2 separate regions of the Homo sapiens genome follow, and region 2 is linked to region 1. Evidence: promoter capture Hi-C in human tissues and cell types (Jung and others, 2019). All regions are on one chromosome and are shown on one strand. Each heading gives the region's core, a stretch centred on a gene start or on the middle of the fragment in contact. The rest is flanking DNA. Distances are from core to core; before and after follow the strand shown. Region 1 holds the start of KBTBD12 (kelch repeat and BTB domain containing 12). Region 2 overlaps LOC107986129 (a long non-coding RNA gene).

Region 1 (7,408 bases), core at 3,322-5,821:
ATAGTGGTAATCAGTTCAGCTCCTGTTTCTTATCTCTCTTTCAAGGTGCTCTTTGTAGCATGCTGAAACTAAGGTTCCAGGCCAGACCTTGTATTATGTCAAGCCTTCCATCTTGACAGTCCACAAGCTGATGTGTGTGACAGTCCACAAGCTAATGTGTGTGAGAAACAGAACCTGATTGTGCTAACAAGTTCTAGTTGAAGCCCCCAGGCCACCAGGATGCCCAATCCTTCCCCTTTCCCAGGGTCACCTCTAAGTTTGGGAGGGGGGCTCTTACCAAGACACCAGAGTCAGGGGAAGGGGCATCCTTCTGGAACTCGACGTCTGCCATCTGTCTGCACTGACACCCACAGAGAGGTCCACTGTCCTTGGTTCTTGGTTGTGTGAGGGCTCCCTATGTGCCTGTCTGCATGGGCCCCCTTGGTTCAGTGGCTCTCTCTACTGTATCAGGGCCTTGGGGACACCAAGGCCTCTGGAAGAGCTGTCTGGAGCCCTCGCTGTTCAGCCACACTATGAAGTCGTTGCTGCCCACTGGGTTCTGGCTGCCTCCCTGTGACCCTTCTCAGCAAGGGAGACAGCCATTCCTTCTCTCCTTAGATCCCACAAGCCTCCCTACAATTAGTCCAGCCAAACAGGATGCAGGTCTTCTTCCTCAAAGCCTAGGAAAATCTATGCTCTCCTTCCTTGTTCTTCAGAAACTGCCTCCTCTCCTCAGCTGGGGAAGGGGATATGGCAGGAGGATGCACTGCTCTAATTTAGGTTGTCGCCCAAATGTTTCATGCATGCCAGTAACGCGTGGCTTTCCTGAAAGGGCCTGGACTTCTGGAATGGAACGTGTTAAGAGGAGACCATTTCCTCCATTCCCTCCTTGTTTTCCACCGGCCTGACTCTCCCCCTGAGGCAATGAGCCTGGAATAGTTTTACTTTTTGGAACGGATTAGAGGAACAAAGTCTCCTAAAGGAAATACATGATGAAGGAGGATGGAAAGAAGCAGCTGATACTTTTTAAAAAAATCACTCCACAGACAACATCATGCAGCAGCAGAACTGGTGCAAGCTAGTAAGAGGGCAGACATGGAAAAAAAAGAGAAGAAAGCTGGCACCACTGGGGTGTGGCTGCTCTTCGTGCTGCGGCAGGCTGTTTTGGGGATTGAATGAAGTTGCTTGTTTTTCATTTAAGAGCCAGGGTTTATCTAATGAGGAAACTGCTTAAGCCAAGTTACAGACTTGGCTCAAGACAAGAACCAGGCTGTGCTGTGTGAGAAGTACTATTTCAGACGTGTATTCCTCCTTCAAAAGGTACGAATGATATGGAGTGGGAGTGGGTGTGTGGAAAAAAAAATGGTTTCTGTGTCAATAAAAAGCTGCCCAGAGTCTAGTCACAATAAAAGGGAGCCAGACAGGGGTAGATCAGCTTCAAAGAATAAAGGAATAAATTATATAAAAATAACAAAATCTGCACACAGGAATACAGAGAAACAACTCAACACTGTAAGAAAGCAAAGACTGAAAATAAAGCTTTGAATAGAAAGAGGAGGGAAAATACCTCAAGAAGAGAGAGACAGAGAGCGAGAGAGAGCGAGAGCAAGAGAGAGAGACCCAGTAGGAAGGAGCAGTAAATAGAAAAAGAATAGTAAGTTACTGCTGAGTAAAAAAGTACATATTCATATATGATATATTCCAGATGCATATTCCTTAAATCAAGTTATTGATAAATCAGTAGATTTGATAAATATTAATACTTCATTAATCATTTGGCACATGGATGTTTTGAGAATCAACTATAGTCACTCAGTGATATGGCCCAGCATCTAAATTAGCCTCCAGACCCCAAGCCCTGACTCTTCATAGCATATTCCACTTCTTCCTGAAACAAATGAAAAAGGTAAAATAAAGTAGCCCAATAGGAAATTGAACAGCGCCTTCAAAGCAAGCTGAGAAAGATTCATTAGGTTCACACAAACATCTCATAAACAAAACCAGAAGCAGGAAAGAAAATAGTCGCAGAAGGATCTAACTAGGACTAACTGGATCAAGGGATGTTTGTGGGGAAAGGATACAGGAATTTCCCCAAATAACTGTAAGTATGTATGTGTATGCTCGACAGGCTGAGGTGGGAGGATGGCTTCACCCCAGGAGTTTGAGACAATCCTGGGCAACATAGCGAGATCCTATCTCTCTCTAAAAAAAATTAAAATTTAGCCAGGCATGGTGGCACACACCTGTAATCCCAGCTATTTGGGAGACTGAAGTGGGAGGTTCACTTAAGCCCAGGAGTTCGAGGCTGAAGTGAGCTATGATTGCACCACTGCACTCAAGCCTAGATGACAAAGTGAGACCCTGTCTCTAAAAAAGGAAAAAAAAAAAAAAAGTAAGTGTAAATACGAATGCATGCAAGCATTCTTCATTGACATGAATACCTTCTAAAATGTTTAAAGGGACTTTACTTACCATATAAAATCTGTTTTGTTTTCAATGTGGTATATAAAGGCACACATATACACAGAAAAATATTATTCAGCCTTAAGAAAAGAAAGGACATTATACTCAGTTAAATAAGCCAGTTACAAAAGGAGAAATTCTGGCCAGGAGCGGTGGGTTACTCCTGTAATCCCAGCACTTTGGGAAGCTGAGGCGAGTGGATCACCTGAGGTCAGGAGTTTCAGACCAGCCTGAGCAACATGGTGAAACCTCGTCTCTGCTAAAAATACAAAAATTAGCTGGGCGTGGTGGAGCACGACTGTAATCCCAGCTACTTGGGAGGCTGAGGTAGGTGAATCACTTGAACGGGGGAGGCAGAGGTTGTAGTGAGCTGAGATCGCACCACTGAACACCAGCCTGGGCGACAGAGCAAGACTCCGTCCCCATCCCCCTCCCCCAAAAAAGGACTAATTCTGTATGATTTTGCTCATATAAGGCACCTAGAATAGGCAAATTCGTAGAGGCAAAAAGTAGAATAGTGGTTACCAGGTGCTAAAGGGGAGGGAGAAATAAGTTATTGTTTAAGGAGTACCAAGTTTCTTTTGAGAGGATGAAAAAATTCTGGAAATGGATACTGGATATGGTTGTACAACATTATTAACATAATGCCACTGACTATGCTTAAAAATGATTAAAATGATAAATGTTATGTTATGTATATTTTACCACAATAAAAAAAAAGGAAGAGGTGGGCAGAAGAGTTAGTGTCAAAGTGATGCTGAGAGGTGAAGCCAGCTGCACTTCTGGGTTGGGTGGGGACTTGGAGAACTTTTCTGTCTTACAAGAGGATTGTAAAATGCACCAATCAGCACTCTGCAGCTAGGATTGTAAAACGCACCAATCAGCGCTCTGTGGCTAGCTAGAGGTTTCTAAAATGGGCCAATCAGCACTCTGTAAAAACACACCAATCAGCTCTCTGTGGCTAGCTAGAGGTTTGTAAAATGGACCAATCAGCACTCTGTAAAATGGACCAATCAGCACACTGTAAAATGGACCAATCAGCACTTGGTAAAATGGACCAATCAGCAGGACATGGGCAGGGACAAATAAGGGAATAAAAGCTGGCCACCCAGTCAACACAGGGAACCCAGTCAGGTCCATTTCTAGGTTGTGGAAGCATTGTTCTTTTGCTCTTCACAATAAATTTTGCTGCTCCTCACTGTTTGGGTCCATGTGACCTTTAAAGCTTTCTTTAACATTTAAGGTCCGTGGCTTCATTCTTGAAGTTAGCGAGATGGAGACCACAAGCCCACTGAAAGGAACCAACTGCAGACACAATGCATGTGAGAAAGACTCAGCCCTATTTTCTGGCTTTGAAGCTGGAGGAAGGAGCCAGGAGCAAAAGAATGAAGACAGTTTCCAGAAGCTGCAAAAGGGCAGGGACAGATTCACTCCAGGAAGCCCCAGAAACAAACACAGTCCTGCTGACACCTTGATTTCAATCCAGTGAGACATATTTTGGACTTCTGACCTACAGAGCTAAAATAATAGTAAGATAATAAAGTTATGTTGCCACCACTGAAAACAGTTTTATTTTGCTTTGGTTTAAGCTAACTGAGCTAATACAGCTGCCGTATTTTATGACACTTGCCTAAGGAAGACTTCCCATCCCTGCACTGCTCCCGGCTAACCAGTCCTTTCTCGGGACTCCTGGAAACCTCCCACTCTCAGAGAGGTGTAGGGTATAAAAATCACAAGCTGATGGCTCAGGATGTAGCAAATAAAAATACAAGACCAAAACGAAACCCAACCGGAACACCGAGTTAAACGTGAATTGACCATGCGATATTTGGGACATACTTAACACTAAAAATTACTGGTTGTGTATCTGAAATTTACCTTTAACTGGGCTCATGTATTTTACCGGGCAACCCTACCCCCCGGTCACAGTGAGACTACACACGGGGTCTTTTGGTCATTTTGCAAGTGTAAAAGACTAACGGGAACACCGGCATTTTTCAAAGCTCGATTTCCAAACCTCCTTTAAACACTTGTCCCCATCCCCTCCCCGCAGGCCTTCAGTCGCTCTGGCACGCGGGCCAGCGCGGGAACACTCTGCGCAGGCGCACAGCGTTCCGCGGGGGACGCTCAGTAGGGTACGGGACGCGCGCGGGGAGACCCTGTGCAGCGACACCGGGGCTGTAGTCGCCGTCTGGAACCAGCGCGGGAATAGGTGCGCAGGCGCACAGTGGCTGGAGGGCAGCGGCGGCGTGGTCTCGGGCCACTTCCAAGCAGAGGGCAGCACCTGTCCCCTCGGAGGCGCTGCCAGCGCCCTCCCTCCTCCTCCGCAGGGCGCGGGACCTCTATTTATATCGCCCAGCCAGCACAGGCCCATATTGGGCAGTGGCCTCAGTCAGGCCCGCTGGCCGCCCTGCCACACGGTAGCGTCCAAGCCAGGTCGTGGCCCAGCGAGTGGGGACGCGCCCCGAACCAGGCAGCACCTTCGTAAGTAGGGGTAGCGCCCCGGGGGAACGCGGCCCCCAGTCACAAGCCCTGCCTCAACTCCGGGCCAGGTTGAACCTGGGCGCCGACCCGGGGCCACCGGCACTTGCAGCCTCGGCTCTAAGTGACTTCCTTCGAGTCGCAGTGGGCCGGCGCCTGGCGTCAGGTGGGGCTCCCAGGAGCTGCTCCTCCAGGCCATCTCTGCCGTCTCCGACCTTCACCGTCGGGTTGTTCAGGCTCGTAGTCTGCATAGTATTATCATCCTCCGAATTACCTGACCAATGTATTATTGTGCCTTCCGTCGCTAGACTGTAAGCACAACAAAGGTAAGGGGCACTTCCCTGTTCCTGGTTGTCTTCCCGGAACCTAGGATAGTGCCTGGCACTTAGAAGGGTTCGTTTAAGTTTAATAAACCCTGAATGTATCCCTGAGCAACTCTCTTAACTTTAAAGCCAGGAGAATAATTGCCCTACATTTTCCCCCAAATGATTCTTAAGAGGAACTAATGAGCTATAATGCGGATTAAAGCACTTTGAAAAGTATAAAGCACTGTGAGAATGCAAAACAGTGTGAACTCGGCAAAGAAAAGAAAAGAAAACTGGTCTTATTTGTCTTTATCATCCATGTGCCTGGCTGTTACTGGATGCCCGGTGTGTGGGATGGATTATTATGAAATGAATCAGGTCTTTTTCCATGCTAGTGAGAAGCACAGAGTACATTTAGGGTGGTGCGTGTGTTCTCAGCCATTTCCTACCAGCCTCTGCAAGCGTAGGATTTTAGCAAGATGGTGTTGCTGAAACAAAATAGGGTGTGGAGACGTAATCGTATAAACTGGGGGTCACAAACTTAAATGGCTGTAGGATAATGTAAATGGACAGGAAAGAGAAAAGCAACAGCGTAAGAATTACAAATAATGACTGTCCCTCAGGTCTCAAAGAGGATAATGGGGCCCAGCAGATGTGCCAGCTGAGAGGTGGCAGCTGGGTACTCAGGTCCTGCACATTGTTGCCGCTTGGGAATTAAGGACTCAGTGTTGCCATACCTTTCATTTTTTTCAGTAGATGCTGGAATATTTCAGCTTAGCATGTTGACAGCTAATTTACCAAAAACAAAACAAAAAGCAAAAAAAAAAAAAAAAACTGAGCAGCCAATTTGTAATCTCAGGCGTAAGTGAAGCCAATACATGGCTTCAGTAGTTCCTTAAGAATGGGGCCAAATCCCAGACAGCAAATGACTGGGAATTAATTTTGAGGGTGCAAGTGAAAACTGGGTGTCATAGTGCATCACGCTATAAGCAAGGGAGTCACTTCACGATTCTGAATGATTTGACTGGAACAAGAGGATAGCAACTTGAAGCATTAAGCGTTGGCGAGTGGGAAAAAACACAGAACTGTTTGTCTGCTGCTCTCACACAATGAACACAGAAAATGTCTGTAACCTCTGCTAACCAAGAGGTATGTGGAGACTTCTCCCCATCAGCAACCAATCACTTAGTTCTGCAGCAGACAGCAGCTTGGGTGTCCTCTAACTCAGTGCAATTCTGACACCATCTACCTGGAGACAGCGTCAGATCCCACAGGCTGAGAGCTCAGTCCCACAGGGCTACCACTATCTTCAGACACTAGTCCCAGCATCCAGAGCTTCTGACTGACCCATCTCAAGTTGGGGTTCCCTCTTTGGGTTTAATTTGCTAGGGCAGCTCACAGAATTCAGAAGAACGCTTAAGTTTTCCGGTTTACTATAAAGGATATTAACAAGGATACAGGTGAAGCGATATATAGGATGAGATATGGGGGAAGGGGTACAGCCAGGTGCACCACACTTCGGGAACCCTCCACATGTTCAGCTATCCTGGAAGCTCTCCAAACCTTGTCCTTTTGGGGTTTTTAGGAAGGCTTCATTACATAGGCATGCTTGATTGGTGATCAACTTAACTTTCTGCTCCTCTCCCTGGAGGTCAGGGGATGGAGCTGAAAGTCCCAATGCTCTAATCCTGCCTTATTCTTTCCGGGGACCAGCTCCTATCCTGAAGCTCTAGAGGCTGCCAGCCCTCAGTCAACTCATTAGTGTACAGAAAGGTATTTATCACTTTGGAGATTCCAAGGATTTTAGGAGTTGTATGTCAGGAAAAGGGCAAACACCAAATAAATATTTTATAGTATCACAATAAATTTTATATGTAGAAAAAATCTTGAATATAATCTTTTATTATCATGTACAAAACCTAGAGAAAAGTTATCATTAACTTGTAATTTAGGACTAAACAAAGCATTAATTTAATTGAACAAACCGTATTGAGCAACTCCTGTGTGCTAAGTGTCATCACAGACAAGAATACAGAAATGGCCAGGTATGGTGGCTCAAGCATATAATCCTAGCACTTTGGGAGGCCAGGTCAGGAGGATTGCTTGAGGCCAGGAGTTTGAGACGCACCTGGGCAACACAGTAAGACCCTGTCTCTACAAAAAATAAATAAATAAATTAG
Region 2 (7,089 bases), core at 2,103-4,602, 39 kb before region 1:
GCCACATTTTATATATATATTCACCCTAAGTATACTCAGACTTAGTGGTTTTGGATACTGTGATTCAAATAAATTTGCAGAAGTTAGTGCAAACATAAGTTAGGAACTTTGTATTATAGTTTTTACCAAATAAACTCCAGCTGTGGTATTATCACAGGCATGGAACTGGCATGTTAAGCTGCATGCTGCTGGCCTAGATGAGCTGTCACTATTTGTTTCTGACCCTCCATTCATTCATTTGTCAAGCAAATATTGGATGAGCACCTATTATGAGCAAGGCACTGTTCTAGGCTTTGAGGATATAAGACTGAATGGCATGAACACAAATCCCTGCCCTCACAAGATAATCCACTTCTTATTGATTTGCTCTATGCTCACCGACGACTCTGGATTTCTAATTCAGTTTCTTAGTGTTTGTTGAGAGCAAAACTAGGGTGTCAGGCCCTGAGAAGGCATGGACCCCATTGGAGATTACTGATTTACACAAAAGGCTCTGGGCAGTTTGATTCACGTGGCTTGGCCCAGGAGACTCTGTGTGCATTGGTAACATTCTACCATGGAGCCTTCAGAGCCCAGGAGCAGCCTTGCCCCCGGGAGACCATGACAACAAAACATCTCTTGCACATCCTGACCTTGATCAGCTTTAGTTGGCGTTATTATGAAAACCCAAATTCAGGGAAAATTGACCAATACTGGGACCTTGGCTTAGCACGTGTGCTTATTGATGCTTACATAAATGATTAGATTGTCTGCCATCACTGCTCCAATCCAGAACTTGGCCTGGAATTAGACACTACTTGAATAGGATGAGAGAAATGGTCTCAAAGGAAACTGTTCTCAATGTTAGTTAGGGAGCAACAATAATAAGAAATAACTTCTCTTGTTTTTCCCAGGTGTTCAGGCCTATTCTAAGAGCCTTAGATGCCTTTGCAACATCACGTCTCTAAAAGATGGGAACCATCACTATCGCCATTTTGCAGAAGAGACTAAAGATTAAGTGAATTGCCCAAGATTACCTGGCTGGTAGTCCCTGGTCTTTTTCTACAGCTTACAAAATCATTTATCTCACACTTCAAGAAGAAATGCTATGTTAGCAGGCAGCCATGAATTTGGGAATTCTGGACAATTGTGTAGAATACTTTTGTGAAGTAAGGATTGTAGTCTGAATCAGTTAGGAAAACAGTGGCTTAGAAGAGACAAGGGGGCAGGGGGCAGTGGCTCACGCCTGTAATACCAGCACTTTGGGAGGCCGAGGCGGGTGGATCACCTGAGTTTAGGAGTTAGAGACCAGCCTGACCAACATGGTGAAACCCCATCTCTACTAAAAATACAAAAAATTAGCCAGGCATGGTGGTGGGCGCCTATAACCCCAGCTACTCAGGTGGCTGGAGCAGGAGAATCGCTTGAACACGAGAGGTGGAGGTTGCAGTGAGTCAAGATGGCGCCATTGCACTCCAGCCTGGGTGAGAAGAATGAGACTTTGTCTCAAAAAAAAAAGACAAGGGTGCATTTCCCCCAGCCTGCCAGAAGCAGTCCAGGGCTGGCATAACAGCTCTGCAATGCCACTGAGAACTCTATGGTCTTTCGGGTGTGATCCATACCCTTACACATCTAAGATAGCTACTGGGAGTGGCAACAGGAGGAAGAAGTCTGGCTGAGTCATCCCCTTTGTATTTTTTATTTTTCTGAGACGGAGTCTTGCTCTGTCCCCCAGGCTGGAGTGCAGTGTCATGATCTCAGCTCACTGCAACCTTTGCCTCCCAGGTTCAAGTGATTCTGTTGCCTCAGCCTCCCGAGTAGCTGGGACTACAGGTGTGCGCCACCACACCCAGCTAATTTTTGTATTTTTAGTAGAGGCAGGGTTTCACCATGTTGGCGAGAATGGTTTCCATCTCTTGACCTCGTGATCTGCCCACCTTGGCCTCTTAAAGTGCTGGGATTACAGGTGTGAGCCACCATGCCTGGCCAAGTCATCCCATGTTTAAGGGACTTCTTTCCCATCCAACTTCTACTTCGAGCCCACAGACCAGATCTTAGTCACAAGGCATCTTCATCTGCAGAGGAAGCCAGGAAATACATGTCTCTGTTGGTTTGGTTTGGTTTCTATTTTTTTTTAATTTTAGTACATTGTTGCCCAGAATAAAATTAAGATCATATTAGTGAGGGACAAGTGGATAACAAATACTGGGTGGGCGAAAGCAGGATGAACCCCAGATGACCTAGAGCACTTTATGAACTTATAACAATTCCAGGTAGACATCTCCCTGCATGGCACAGCCTGGCGAGTGATGATTCCTCTGTGTGAAGCTCTCAAAGCACCCATTTCCTCCAGGTGCAGGGCCTGGAGAGGGAGCCCAGGCCCCTGCTGCCCTCTGCCAGGCCCCCTGTGTATTATGGATGAGTCGGCTTGGGCTGCTGTAACAGACAGGGAGTCTTAACCAGCAGAAATCTATTGTCTCATGATGCTGGAGGCCACAAGTCCCAGATCAAGATGTCACAGGGTTGGTTCCTTCTGGGGACTGTGAGGGAGAACCCATCCCAGGCTTTTCTCCTTGGCTTGCAGATGGCCATCTTCTCCCTGTGTCTTCACAATCATCTTTCTTTTTGGGGTGCCTGTCTCTGGGTCAAAATTTCCTCTTTGCAAAGAACATGAATCATTGGATTAGAGCCCATCCTGAGAACCTCATGTCAGCTCATCTCTGTACAGACCTTATCTCCAAGTAAAGTTACTTTCTGAAGTCCTGAGGTGGGGACTCCAACAATTCAGCTCCTGTGTGGTGCATGACCTTTACAACGGTAAGAAGCAAGCTGCTCCAGTACTGCCTATCCACAGTGTGACCCCATGGAAACCCAGACTGCCTGCTCACTTCACCCCACATTTCACATAGCCCCTGGCTCCACACTGGCCTTTGGTAATACTCAACAAACAGCTACAGATGAATGAAAATGCCAGCAAATCTGCCTAGAGAGGTGCTTGAATGGCTCCCAACAGGCTCCTCAGCCTCACTTCCTGCTGCTTCACCCTCACCCCTGTGCTTCAGCCTCCCCAGACACAGTGGCCCTGACTGAGTCTGCACTTTGCATCCCTCTGCCTGGAATACCCTCTCCCCAGAGAGCCACATGCCTCCCTCCCTCCTATCTATTTTGTGGCAGGCAAGCTGGGGAGCTGATTCAGGATTATTGGGTGGGCCCGATGTAACCATGAATCCTTGAAGACAGAAAAAGCAGAAAATCTTCCTGGCTAAGTCAGAAAGTAGACACTAATTGGAGAGAGACTGAGTCAAAGCATGAGAGGGACTCCATCCGCCATTGTCAACTTTGCAGAGGGAAGAAATGAGCCATAAGCCAGGGAACCTGGCAGCCCCTAGAATCTGGGAATGGCCTTCAGCTGACAGCCAGTAAGGAAATGGGGCTTGAGTCCTAAAATGCAAGGAATTGAATTCTGCCAACGACGCAGCGGGGCAGTAAATGGATCCTCCCCCAGAAGCCCAGAGAGGAATGCAGTCCTGCCAACACCTTGATCATGGCCGGGTAATACCCTCATTGGACTTCTGAGCTTCAGAACTGTAAGATAATATATTTGTGTTGTTTAAGCCACTAAGTTTGTGGTAATTTGTTATGGCAGCCTAAGATACTCATGTTATTCAGGTTCCTGATAAAATGTCACCTTCTTATAGAGGGTTTCCGAGACCATCGACCTGCATTTCTCCTGGTTTACTTTTCCCCACAGCCCTTGTCACTAGCTGATGTCACACTGTACACTTATCTGTGTTTTTGCTTCTCTTCTCTCTCTCCACTAGTGTGAGCTCCAGAAGGATGAGATATTTTGTTTTGACCCCTTGTAGGCATTTAATAATTATTTGTTGAATGAAAGAATACCATAAACAGGGTTTAATTTTGTCAGCTGCTTTCTCTATTTAGATAATCATTTGGGTTTTTTCCTTATTTCTGTTAACATAGTGAATTGATTTACAAAGATTAAATCAACTTTGCATTTCTAAGATAAACCCCACTTGGTTATGATATATAATCCTTTTCATATATTTCCGGATTTGATTTTGCTAATAGTTTGTTTAGGAATTTTGCCTCTATGTTCATGAGACGTAGATGACATGTCGGTTTTTTGTTTTGTTTTGTTTTTGTTTTGTAATGTCCTTGTCAGATTTTGGTATCTGAGTTATAGGAGACTCACAAAATGAATTGGAAAGTGTCATCTCTTCCTCTTTTATCTAAGAGTTATGCAAGCTTGGTATATATTTCTTTTCTTTAAAAGATTGGTTGAATTCACCAATGAAGCTATCTGTGCCTAAGTTTTCTTTGTGGGAAGGTCTTAAATTATAGATTTAATTTCTTTAGCAAATATGACTACTCAGATTTTTTTTTACTTCTGTCAGATTTATGCAGTTGTGTTTTTCAAAGGATTTTCTCCATTTCCAATACATTCATGATATTCCCTTGTTATCCTTTTAATATCTTTAAGATCTGCAGTGATGCCCCCCTTTTCATTGGAGATGTTGGTAATTGATAATTTGATTTGTTTGTTTCTCCCTTAATCTCTCTCTCTCTCTATCATGTTATGAGGGAATTTATCAATTATATTAGTCATTTCAAAGAACTTTTGTTTCTGTTGATTTTCTCTATTGTTTGTCTTTTTTTCATTTCATTGACTTCTGCCCTCATCTTCCCTTTCTTTTCTTTTCTTTTTTTTTTTTTTTTTTTTTTTTTTTGAGACAGAGTCTTGCTCTGTTGCCCAGGTTGCAGTGCAATGGCACTATCCCAGCTCAGTGTAACCTCTGCCTCCTGGGTTCAAGCAATTCTCCCTGCCTCAGCCTCCCGAGTAGCTGGGATTACAGGTGCCTGCCACCATGCCTGGCTAAGTTTTGTATTTTTAGTAGGGATGGGGTTTCACCATGTTGGCCAGGCTGATCTCGGACTCCTGACTTCAGGTGATCCACCCACCTCGGCCTCCCAAAGTGCTGGGGTTACAGGCGTGAGCCACTACACCCGGCCCTTTATTTTCTTCTTTCAACTTTTCCGTGGTTTAGCTTGTTCCTCTCTTTCTAGCTTCTTGGGGGTATAACTGAATTACTGGCTTTAAATCTTCCTTCTTTTTAAATATATATATATTTTTATATATAAAAATTATATGTATATATTTATATATATTATATATATAAACATATATAATATATAAAAATATATAATATATATATTATTATATATAATATATATTTATATATATATTATAAAAATATTATTATATATAATATATATTTATATATATATTATAAAATATATATAATATATAAATATATATATATATTTTTAAAGAGACAAGGTCACGCTCTGTTGCCTAGGCTAGACAGCAGTGGCATGATCATGACTCACTGCAGCCTCAAACTGTTGGGCTCAAATGATCCTCCTGCCTTAGCCTTCTGAGTAGCTAGGACCACAGGCATGTACCACTGTGCCAACTAATTTCTTTTTTTTTTTTTTTGGTAGAGACAGGGTGTCACTATGTTGCCCAGGCTGGTCTTGAACTCCTGGACTCAAGAGATCCTCCCACCTTAGCCTCCTAAAGCCCTGGGATTACAAGCATGAGCCATCCTAAATTTTTTTATTTGTTGTATTTTCGTTATCATTCAGTTAAAAACGTTTTCTAATGTCTCTTGTGATTTCTTCTTAAACCCATATATTATGTAGATTCATTTCTAAACAGTTGGAGCTTATCTGATAATCTTTTTGTCATTGACTTCCAGCTTGGTTCCCATGTGGTTAAGAAACACACTCTGTTTGATTTTAAACTTTTGACATTTATCCAAAATTATTTATGGTCCACAATATGATCTATTCTGGTGATGTTTCATATCCATTTGAAAAGAATACATATTCTTCAGTTGTTGGGTATAATGTTCTCAAATTTTGACCAATTAGTTCAAATTGGTTTATAGTGTGGTTCAAATCTTATATATCTTTATCCATTTTTTGTCTGCTTATTATTCTATCAGTTATTGAAAGAGAAATGGCATAATGTGAATTTGACTTTTTTAAAATCTTAGTTCTATAAATTACTGAGGCATACAGGGTGAATACACTTTAGGACAGTTAACACTTCCTGAAGAATTAACCCTTTATCATTATTCTTTATCATAAGGATGAAAAGCACACCCTTCTCCCTGGAAATATTAATGTAGGTCATCAGCTATATCAGTATAGCAATGATATTAATATAGCTGCATCTGCTTTCTTATACTGTTTCTTTTTCCATTATTTTACTTTTAACCTTTCTGTATCCTTATATTTAAAGATAGTCTCTTGTAAACATTATAGGGTCAAGTTTTCTTTTTTCTGTCCAAACAAACTCTCTTGTTTCATTGGTGTGTTTATTCCATTTACGTTTTGAACTACTCATATGGTTGGGTGTAAGTCTGCCATCTTTCTGTTTTGTTTCCACTTGTCCCTTCTCATCCATTGTTTCTCCTTTCCAGACTTCTGAATTAATCAAGCATTTTTATTATTCCTTTTTATCTTTTGCATTCAATTAGTAATAACTCTTTATTTTATACCTAGTTGTTGCTCTAGGGATTATAATATGCCTCCTTAACTTATCATACTCTACCTTAAGTTGATATACAACTTCATGTACAATGCTAGAAACTTACAACAGTTTAATTTCTTTTAACCACTCACTCCCCTTTAGGTTACGTATTATATATTTTACCTCTACATATTATATAAATCCACCCATACTCTGTTATTAGTTATTTCAAGTGGTCAGTAGGCTCTAAAATGTATTTTTTGAACTGTTCTTTTCTATTTATCTAACCATTTCTGCTTCTAGTGGCCTTCATTCCTTCTTGAAGATATGGGCTTCCAACTGGGATCTTTTATCCTCACCCTTGTCTTAGTTCGGGTTGCTATAACAGAATACGATAGTCTGGGGGGCTTAAACAATAGAAATCTATTTTCTCACGGTTCTGGAGGTTGGAGTTAGGTCAGGGTGCCAGCCACACTGAGTCCTTGGTGAGGGCTCTCTTCCAGGTTATGTCCTCCCTCACACAGCCTTCCCTTGTGCATTTACACACAGAG

Evidence for each region. Contacts are between HindIII fragments. The study calls those that stand out against the background at their distance.
Region 2: a fragment that was not itself captured here is called in contact with the fragment with the promoter of KBTBD12 in region 1 in 1 of the 25 tissues and cell types used here (small bowel).

The regions. Positions count from the first base shown.
Region 1 is chr3:127,910,661-127,918,068 of GRCh38, forward strand. KBTBD12 (kelch repeat and BTB domain containing 12) reads left to right here and starts at 4,572. Exons shown (of 6, transcript NM_207335.4): 1 at 4,572-4,926. The region is part of intron 3 of LOC107986129 (a long non-coding RNA gene); the gene reads right to left. It overlaps LOC124909427 (a long non-coding RNA gene), which reads left to right and starts at 1,046. Exons shown (of 2, transcript XR_007096071.1): 1 at 1,046-1,299; 2 at 3,686-4,006. The HindIII fragment of the contact is 11,252 bases long and covers 2,593-7,408 here.
Region 2 is chr3:127,872,676-127,879,764 of GRCh38, forward strand. All of the region lies in intron 3 of LOC107986129 (a long non-coding RNA gene), which reads right to left. Among named protein-coding and RNA genes, the nearest start is that of KBTBD12, 39 kb to the right of the region's middle. The HindIII fragment of the contact is 8,894 bases long and covers 1-7,089 here.